Linked DNA regions of Homo sapiens: region 1 is linked to region 2. Evidence: promoter capture Hi-C in human tissues and cell types (Jung and others, 2019). All regions are on one chromosome and are shown on one strand. Each heading gives the region's core, a stretch centred on a gene start or on the middle of the fragment in contact. The rest is flanking DNA. Distances are from core to core; before and after follow the strand shown. Region 1 has its middle 61 kb from the start of FSIP2. Region 2 holds the start of FSIP2 (fibrous sheath interacting protein 2).

The links. Contacts are between HindIII fragments. The study calls those that stand out against the background at their distance.
Region 1: a contact is called between a fragment that was not itself captured here and the fragment with the promoter of FSIP2 in region 2, in 2 of the 25 tissues and cell types used here (aorta and mesendoderm cells).

Annotation. Positions count from the first base shown.
Region 1 is chr2:185,675,494-185,679,249 of GRCh38, forward strand. No RefSeq gene overlaps it. Among named protein-coding and RNA genes, the nearest start is that of FSIP2, 61 kb to the right of the region's middle. The HindIII fragment of the contact is 6,612 bases long and covers 1-3,756 here.
Region 2 is chr2:185,736,743-185,740,521 of GRCh38, forward strand. It overlaps FSIP2 (fibrous sheath interacting protein 2), which reads left to right and starts at 2,062. Exons shown (of 23, transcript NM_173651.4): 1 at 2,062-2,251; 2 at 2,604-2,729. The coding sequence starts at 2,153. FSIP2-AS2 (FSIP2 antisense RNA 2) reads right to left here and starts at 3,735. Exons shown (of 3, transcript NR_110217.1): 1 at 3,637-3,735. RefSeq lists a silencer at 2,194-2,463. The HindIII fragment of the contact is 10,800 bases long and covers 1,442-3,779 here.

The DNA of each region.
Region 1 (3,756 bases), core at 912-3,411, 61 kb before region 2:
TGTAGATAAATCTGAAAAACAGCTGAAATTTTTATCCTTTTACCTCTATTACTGCTGTTGCTTTAATTTGATTTTTTTTAGGAGGAATTATTCAGATGTTGCAGCCACAAATAAGACAGATGGCACAAAAATTGGTTTAAACAATAAATACAATGATGACTTAGTTTAAATGTAATACGTGTTGGTTATTCATCAAATTCTATTTAAAAAGTACCTGGGTTACAAAAGCATTATCTTTCTAGAACATGTAATAATAGGTATAGTATGACTAATACATTCATATGCAATTATTATAGAGTACAATTTTTACATTTAAACTGCTCCCAGATATAATAGCATACTTTTGTTACAGGCAAAATACTATTCATTCAAATGGTGTAATTCAACAATTCCCGAGGACCATCTAGACAACATGGCCCTATGCCTTAACAGCTTTCAATTTCCAGTGAAGATCTAAAATATACTGCTAATTTCCATAGATGTAAACCATTAACAACACACATGAAATAAAACAAAGTTAGATTTATTCATTTGCTGCAGGATGAGAGAATACCTAGCCATGAAACTGGATGGTGCCTCTGCAAGGAGCTAAGATGGTCTTGTTACAGGATGTGGCTTTAGCTGAGTGATTCTCGGGAGACATTCTCTGGAGAGATTCGCTGGAGTCTGTTGTGAATTGGGTGCTATTAGGAAGGGGAACAGTCTTCACAGTTTCCCTAAGCAGAAGCATGCTCCTCTTAATAAACCCAAACCTCTAAACTCTCACGATGTAAAAGTGCACAGACAGCATGCATTAAATTTCACACATTGGTGGTGTGGCTAAGGGTGATAGTGAGAGTTCCAATCCTATTTCTATCATCGACTACAAATCCTGTGCATTGTAACTATATGGTGCCTAGCCCTGTTTATATCAACTATAGGTTTAGTACATATACTACATTCTGGAAGACAGTACCCACAGGCTGTCATTCCTGAGCTGGCCACTTAGCCAAGGCCCTATTATTATACTATGTGGCTAGCTGCATCTGAATGATTCACTGTATGGAAATAGCCGTGGGTTGTTTGTTCATATGCCTATTGTCACACCTTCTTTGCAATGAAACCAGACATCTCACTGAAGGATGTCATACTGGTTTAGAGGCCATCTGTTAGCCTTCAGACAGTGGTACTGGCAGAATCACTCTAGGAAGAAGACAAAACTATGTCTGAAATATTTATCAGTTTCAGTAAGGATAAATTGCAGCCCCATTAGGGTGGAAGGAGATCAAATATAGTCAAACTTCCACCCAATGGCTGGCTAGTTCAGAAAATTTCATTGTTCTAACCAATTTTTTAGTGTACAAGTGTTTTTTTAATATCAAATTCAATCTCTAGATAAATCATTATAATTTCCCTTAAATTATAGACAACTTGATTGTATAAAAGTTTTTGCTTGTTTGTTCATTTTATAAATCCTCGTATTATGACTTATACAGACAATGCTTGACATGCTTGGACTTTCTGTTTTGTCCTGAACATCCCTCTTTATTAAATAACGAGTCATTTTATTCAAGGACAAAATTTACCATACAAGATTCTTTCTCATAGAATATTATTTATCTTTAAGCTTTCTTACCAAAAAATACCTCTTTATTTCTATAACTTTCTTTACATCTCTCTTATTTCCTGTTTCCTTTTACCTTGTTTTATGCATAACTTTTAAATAAGCTTTGAATTAGAAAAAAAAAATTCACTTTTTTAAAAGAACACTTTTTTTAGAAAGAATGTTTTCTTACAATATGTTTTTATTAAAAAATACCCAAATAATGAAGTATCAATTATTTAATTTAATATAACTTTAGATTCTAAATATGACAAGTTTCTCTACAAGTATTTATCCCATTATATTTACCTAATTATTTTATTTTAATTGTTTACCTAGATTTATGAAAACTGTGATAGTCATAATTTAAAGTTATGAAGCTGCCATAACAGAGACAGTGAAAAATATCTGACCTAACTGACTCCATCTTGCTTCTAACTTCCAAGCTGCCCTTTTTCATTCCTGGGAGTTGGCCCAACTAACTTTGGGAGGAACTTAGTTTATAGTTTACCTCTGAAACAAAGATGATAACAGTCCTTTCCCAAAACAAACCTCCTTCCTGCCTATGGACTAGACTGCTTAAAGCCACAAGATTAGAAGTTATGGTAATTTTACTAATTCAAGATGTAGCTATTGTCAGTAAACCAGTATCAATGTCTTATATGTTTAAAATTACACAAGCAAATATCATTCTGTTTTGGGCTGGGTTTATAGTTTTATAACCCCTATGCCAGATTTTGACACCTTATAGTATTTGGCGGGGATAAGTGTAAAATTTCTTGATAAATAAATGCAAACTAAAATGTATGTTGGCAATTCTTAAGACATTTCTAATATTACTTTACCAATAATTTTAAAGCTACCTTATTTAATAAAGATTTTACTTAAGACACATAGACTTAAAAAAGCATTTGACTAGTCTCCTTTTTTTCTGATAAAGTATTTAAGTGCTTTTATTTTTCTTTAAGCAAATTAAGTAGAGCTCTTTTATATATTTTTAGTAGTTGTGTATACAACACATAAATACATAGACGTATTAGGCATCCCGATAGAAGTACATCTTATAGATTTCTAAGATCCCCTTGTTTTTATTTTTCCTATCTTAGACTTGCAAACTCTTGATAACCTGTTTCATTACCCTGACAGTTGTCAGCTAAATAGCTCTAAATCTGCATATCGAAGGAAACAACTCTTAGATGAAAAATCAGGTAGCAAAATATACATCTCAAGGTATGGAGAGAAAAAGTCAGGTGGTGCTAGAGGGAGATTAAAGGTGGATACAAAATAAAACATAAAATTATAGAAACCTATTATAAGATTGAATAAGGAGGCCAATTTTATTTAGATAGGGACTACCAATCTTTTAACTGGATCTCTGAGGTCTGGGCAGAGACCACCCTGAATCCTGAGTCTTCAAAAGGGGAGAATTATTATGAGGCTAAATCACATGATGCTTTTACAGTGCACTTAAATTTTTATTTTTAAACAAAGACATTTCTAAATGTCTAAACTATACTCTTCCTTAAAAACCCAAGAGTAGCCTCTTTTGCAATAGCTATTTTAGTCAAAAATTCAGGTAACACAGTACAAAAGGAAGCACTTTAAGAGCTGAGACAAATTTGTCTGTTTACACTGTTGGGATTCCATAAGGAAAGACAGAGGTTTCTCCCCAAAAGGGAGCCTGGCGCCTTCTCCATTTTCTTTAAGGAACCTCAGGCTGTCATAAACTATTTGAGGTCCCTCATGCAGCAGAGGGTGCAAGAGAAAGGAGAGCCAGCAGAAGTAAATGAAGAAAACAGAATTCATTTAACTGGAAGAAAAAAAACTTTTGCTCAAAAAAAGACAAGGTCCTAGGAGAGAAAAAACAACAAACAACAACAAAAACATGAAGGCCTTTTAAATACAAACACACACAGGCATACATACAAACACACACACACACACACACACACACACATCTTGGATGTTAGCTTTTAATTAAGCTGACTTTTAACCATTGATCTCCTTTAACAAAAAATCTTTTAAAATTTCATTACCATATTTAAGCTAGGAAAAATTGCTGCTACTTCAGAAGTGTCAAGTATCAAACCATAAAGGACTTGACTTAGGAACTAAACCCAGGCTGTCATGGTGGAAAAAATGAAGGCAGAACCTTAGCTATGGAACTGCAGCAT
Region 2 (3,779 bases), core at 812-3,311:
GGTGTCATTTGAGGTTCAATTCTGAGAGGTGGTACAGGGGAGTTATGTCTCAGAGATGGACAAAAACAGGGCTGTGAGAGGTAGTATAATAGTACCCCAAAGATGTCTATGTCCTCATTTTCAAGACTGAGTATGTGAATATTTCATAGCAAAGAGGAATTAAGATTGCTAATGGAATTAAGGTTGCTAATCAGCTGATCTTAAGATAGATAAATTAGCATGGATAACCTAGATGGGCCCAATGTAATCACAATGATTCTTTAATTGTAGAAGAGAAGGAGCAGAGGTCTGAGTCAGAGAGAGGTTTGAAGATGTTACATTGCCAGATTTAACGTGTGAGGAAGAGGCAACTTCTAGAAGCTGGAAAGGGCAAGAACATAGGTTGTGATCTAGAGCTTCCAGAAAGAACACAGCACTTCCAATACACTGGTTTCTGCCCAGTGAGATTCTCTTTGGATTACTAACCTCCATCACTGTAAGGTAATATATTTGTGGTAATTTAAGCCACTAAGTTTGTGGTGATTTGCTGGCAATAAGAAACTGATACAGAGACCAAGTAACAGAGGCCATTACACACTTTGCGCTGAGGGCAGTTGGGAGTTTAAAGTGAGGAAGAGAAATGGTCAGTTTGCCATCAAAGATCAAATTGATACAAGATGGATTTTTGGGGTAGATGGTGGCAGGGAGATGTTATAAGGCTGTGGCAATGGTGCAAACAAACAAACAAACAAAAAATGATTAGCGGCTTAACCGGGAGAGTAAAGTAGGAGTAGATAGAATCGGGCAAATTAATTTTAGTGATAAAATTAGTGGGACTTGGGGACCAACTAAACATGGGAGATAAGGGGAAAAAGAAGTATCTAGAAGCATTCCTTAGTTTCTGGCTTGGGTAGACTTTGGTATTGTCACTGAGATAGGAAATGCAGGAAGAAGCCTTTGTTTTTTTTTCCTGTTTTGGTGAAAGTTGTGTGTTGAGATTTGAGTAGATTGAATTTAAGACAATTGTGGGATATCCATATGGAAGCTGGCAATAGACTATATCCCAAGCTTAGATTTCAAATTTAAGAGTCCTAAGCACATGTGTGGAATTACAACAAAGAGAGCAGAGTGCACTGATTAAGAAAACAGCCTCAGGAGCCACCATTTAACAGCAATTGTCAGTCTTCCTCAATCTTTGAAAAATAAAGAGTAATTATTGATAAGGCTACTAAAATAAATAAATGTTTAAAAGGGTGTTTGGCACAGTATATGGAAGTTAGTAGATTCTGAAGAAATGGTAACTGTTATTACTAGTCGGGCCAGAAATAAAAGAGAACAGCAGTGGACCAAAGAAAGTATGAAGTTAAGTCTAAACAACAGGTGGGTTAGACACATACTGTCTCTGCCCTCAGAATACTCCCAGTCTAGTTAGCTTCTTACAGTCAGGGGCCATATTTTACTCACGGCTGTGTCCTGCCCAGTGCTTAGCTCAATGACTGGCCCAGAAGCGTCAAGCACTTTATAAATTTCGGCTGGATGGTTGAGGAGAAAGAGGGAAATAGGATCAAGCTGCAGGAGCAGAGAGGAGGCAGTGGGAGAGTGGTAAAGGGCGCTAGAAAGGAGAAGGAAACCTAGGGGACAGAAGAGGCAGGAGGAAGGCAATGAGCCCCTTAGGAAGCCAACGCGTCTGCCTTGTGGACCTGGTGTGGGAAGAAGCTGTGGGAGCCTGGGGATGGGGTGTGGTCTATATGGGGGAAGATGTAGAATGGGCAAAAACAATCACTCGGGAATTTTTATTGAACGGAACAGGGCTCCTTGGAAGCCAGGGGAAATTAACCAGTTACCCACCAACAAAGCTTATACGTTTTCGTTAGGATTGGCTAAGGCGTGATGGTTTCAGAGAAAGATGAAGTTTCAACTGTGGTCCTCTCAGATCAGGCCTCTCGGACCGATTTTCCCAGCTCTGCGGGCGCTCTACGCGCTGGCGCGAGCCGCCCCTCAGGAGGCCACCGCCCTTCTGGGGCCGCTACCATTGGAAGCCTGGAACGCGGGGGGCGGGGCTGAGGTCGTTGGGCTCTGGCCATTCCTGGTCAGGTCCGGACAGAGGGACAACGGGGTGCTAGAGAAGGAGAGCGGGGCGGGTGAGGAAGGGGCTGAGGGGGCTGTGCCGGCCATGGAGCTGTACCTCGGCGCCTGCTCCAAGCCTGCCAAAGTCGCCGTCACCAAGACGGTCGCCAGCGTCCTGGCCGCGGACACCCAGCAGTGCAGAGACGTGAGTGGCCGCAAGCTGGGCGGCGTCGCCCTCTGGCGGCCGCAGGCCTGCTGGGGAGCGGGGCAGGGATCGCCACACACGGGTCGCGAGGCTCCCAACTGTCCCCCGTCAGGAGGCTGCCCTCTTGCGGCGCCCGGGGGCGGTGGCGGTGGCTCGGACTGTACCGGCCGCAACTGGCAGGCGCGGGACGCCAGGAGAGCTGGTGACCAGGGAAAACGGGAGGACTTCAGGATGCCCCGAACCCTGATTGTATAATTCTTCGGAGTCTTTGGTTGCAATGGAAGTAGATTGGTCTAAACTAAACTAATACTGCCTAAAAGGAAAGACAAAACTCTCCAATTGTGTCTGACAGGGCGTGCACAAAACCCACTTTGCAGGGGTTGGACCGGCTCAGCTACTGGACCTACCTCTCGGGGTCAAGCTGCCTGTGATCCCAGGAAGCAATGCTGTATTCTATACTACGAATTTCGGTGAAAAGGTGAACAAGTTTTTATCGTCTTTCTTTCCTTTACCCTTTACTACTTGCTGTTTAACTCAAAGGCTGCATCATACAAAATTCATTAAAGGAATTTGCATCAACATTTACAGGAAAAAGAAAATCCCACATCTGACCGAAGGTATTGTTTAGAATGCATATGAAGCACTTTCATCTTAATGGTTTGGACATAATCATATTCCAGAAAGTTTAGATTCTTAGTCCTTAATTAACAATTCACGGTACCATATTAATATTCCTTATAATAAAACTTCATATATACTTATATAGTAAGATTTGATGTACTTAGAAACATGTTTAGAAGCTGAAAGGTTATTAGTGATAGCTGCCATTTAATGATATGTTACGATTTTAACTGACAGTATCTTGGACCAAACTCTCTTCACGGGAAACATTATTTTGTTTTGAGTTGAATTCTATTTTACACATAAAGAAAAAAAAAAGAACTGAAACAGTGGGACTTAAAATGAGTTAATATGTTTAGTACTTTAACCTTACTTTAATGAAAGAAAGCCCTGCCTCAATGAGGAAGAGACTCCATAATTTGCCCCAGCCTTTCCATCCAGCATTGTCTCCAACCAGAGAGGCTCAGCTTCTTCAAGTTGAGTCTTTCACACCTACCCATAAATACCATGCTAATACTTCAGTATTTTGTCAACTTTGCCCCCAAACCTGGCATACCTTGTCTTCTTCTCCCCAGTCTATGAATCTGAGCTATCAAGATTCTCTGAACTGTGATAGCCCCCCCGTTAGCTTATTTTTGCTTAGAGTTCACGTTGCCCTTGATTTGTGTGATCTCACTTACACAAACCATAGTTAATCATACTGGATTATAGTGTGTACTTCCCTTAAGCCTTTTCATGTTTTTAGTCCTTAACACCACACCTACCCCCAAACCTCCCCAGCCTTTGACTAAGTAGTCAATGCTGAAGGAGGTTTAGTACATTCTTGTTGACTGGTTGCTTTTATCAGTTTTGCAAAAAGTTCTACAAGAAAGAATTCTAAGTGGCCCACTTACCCTTCTAATGTCTA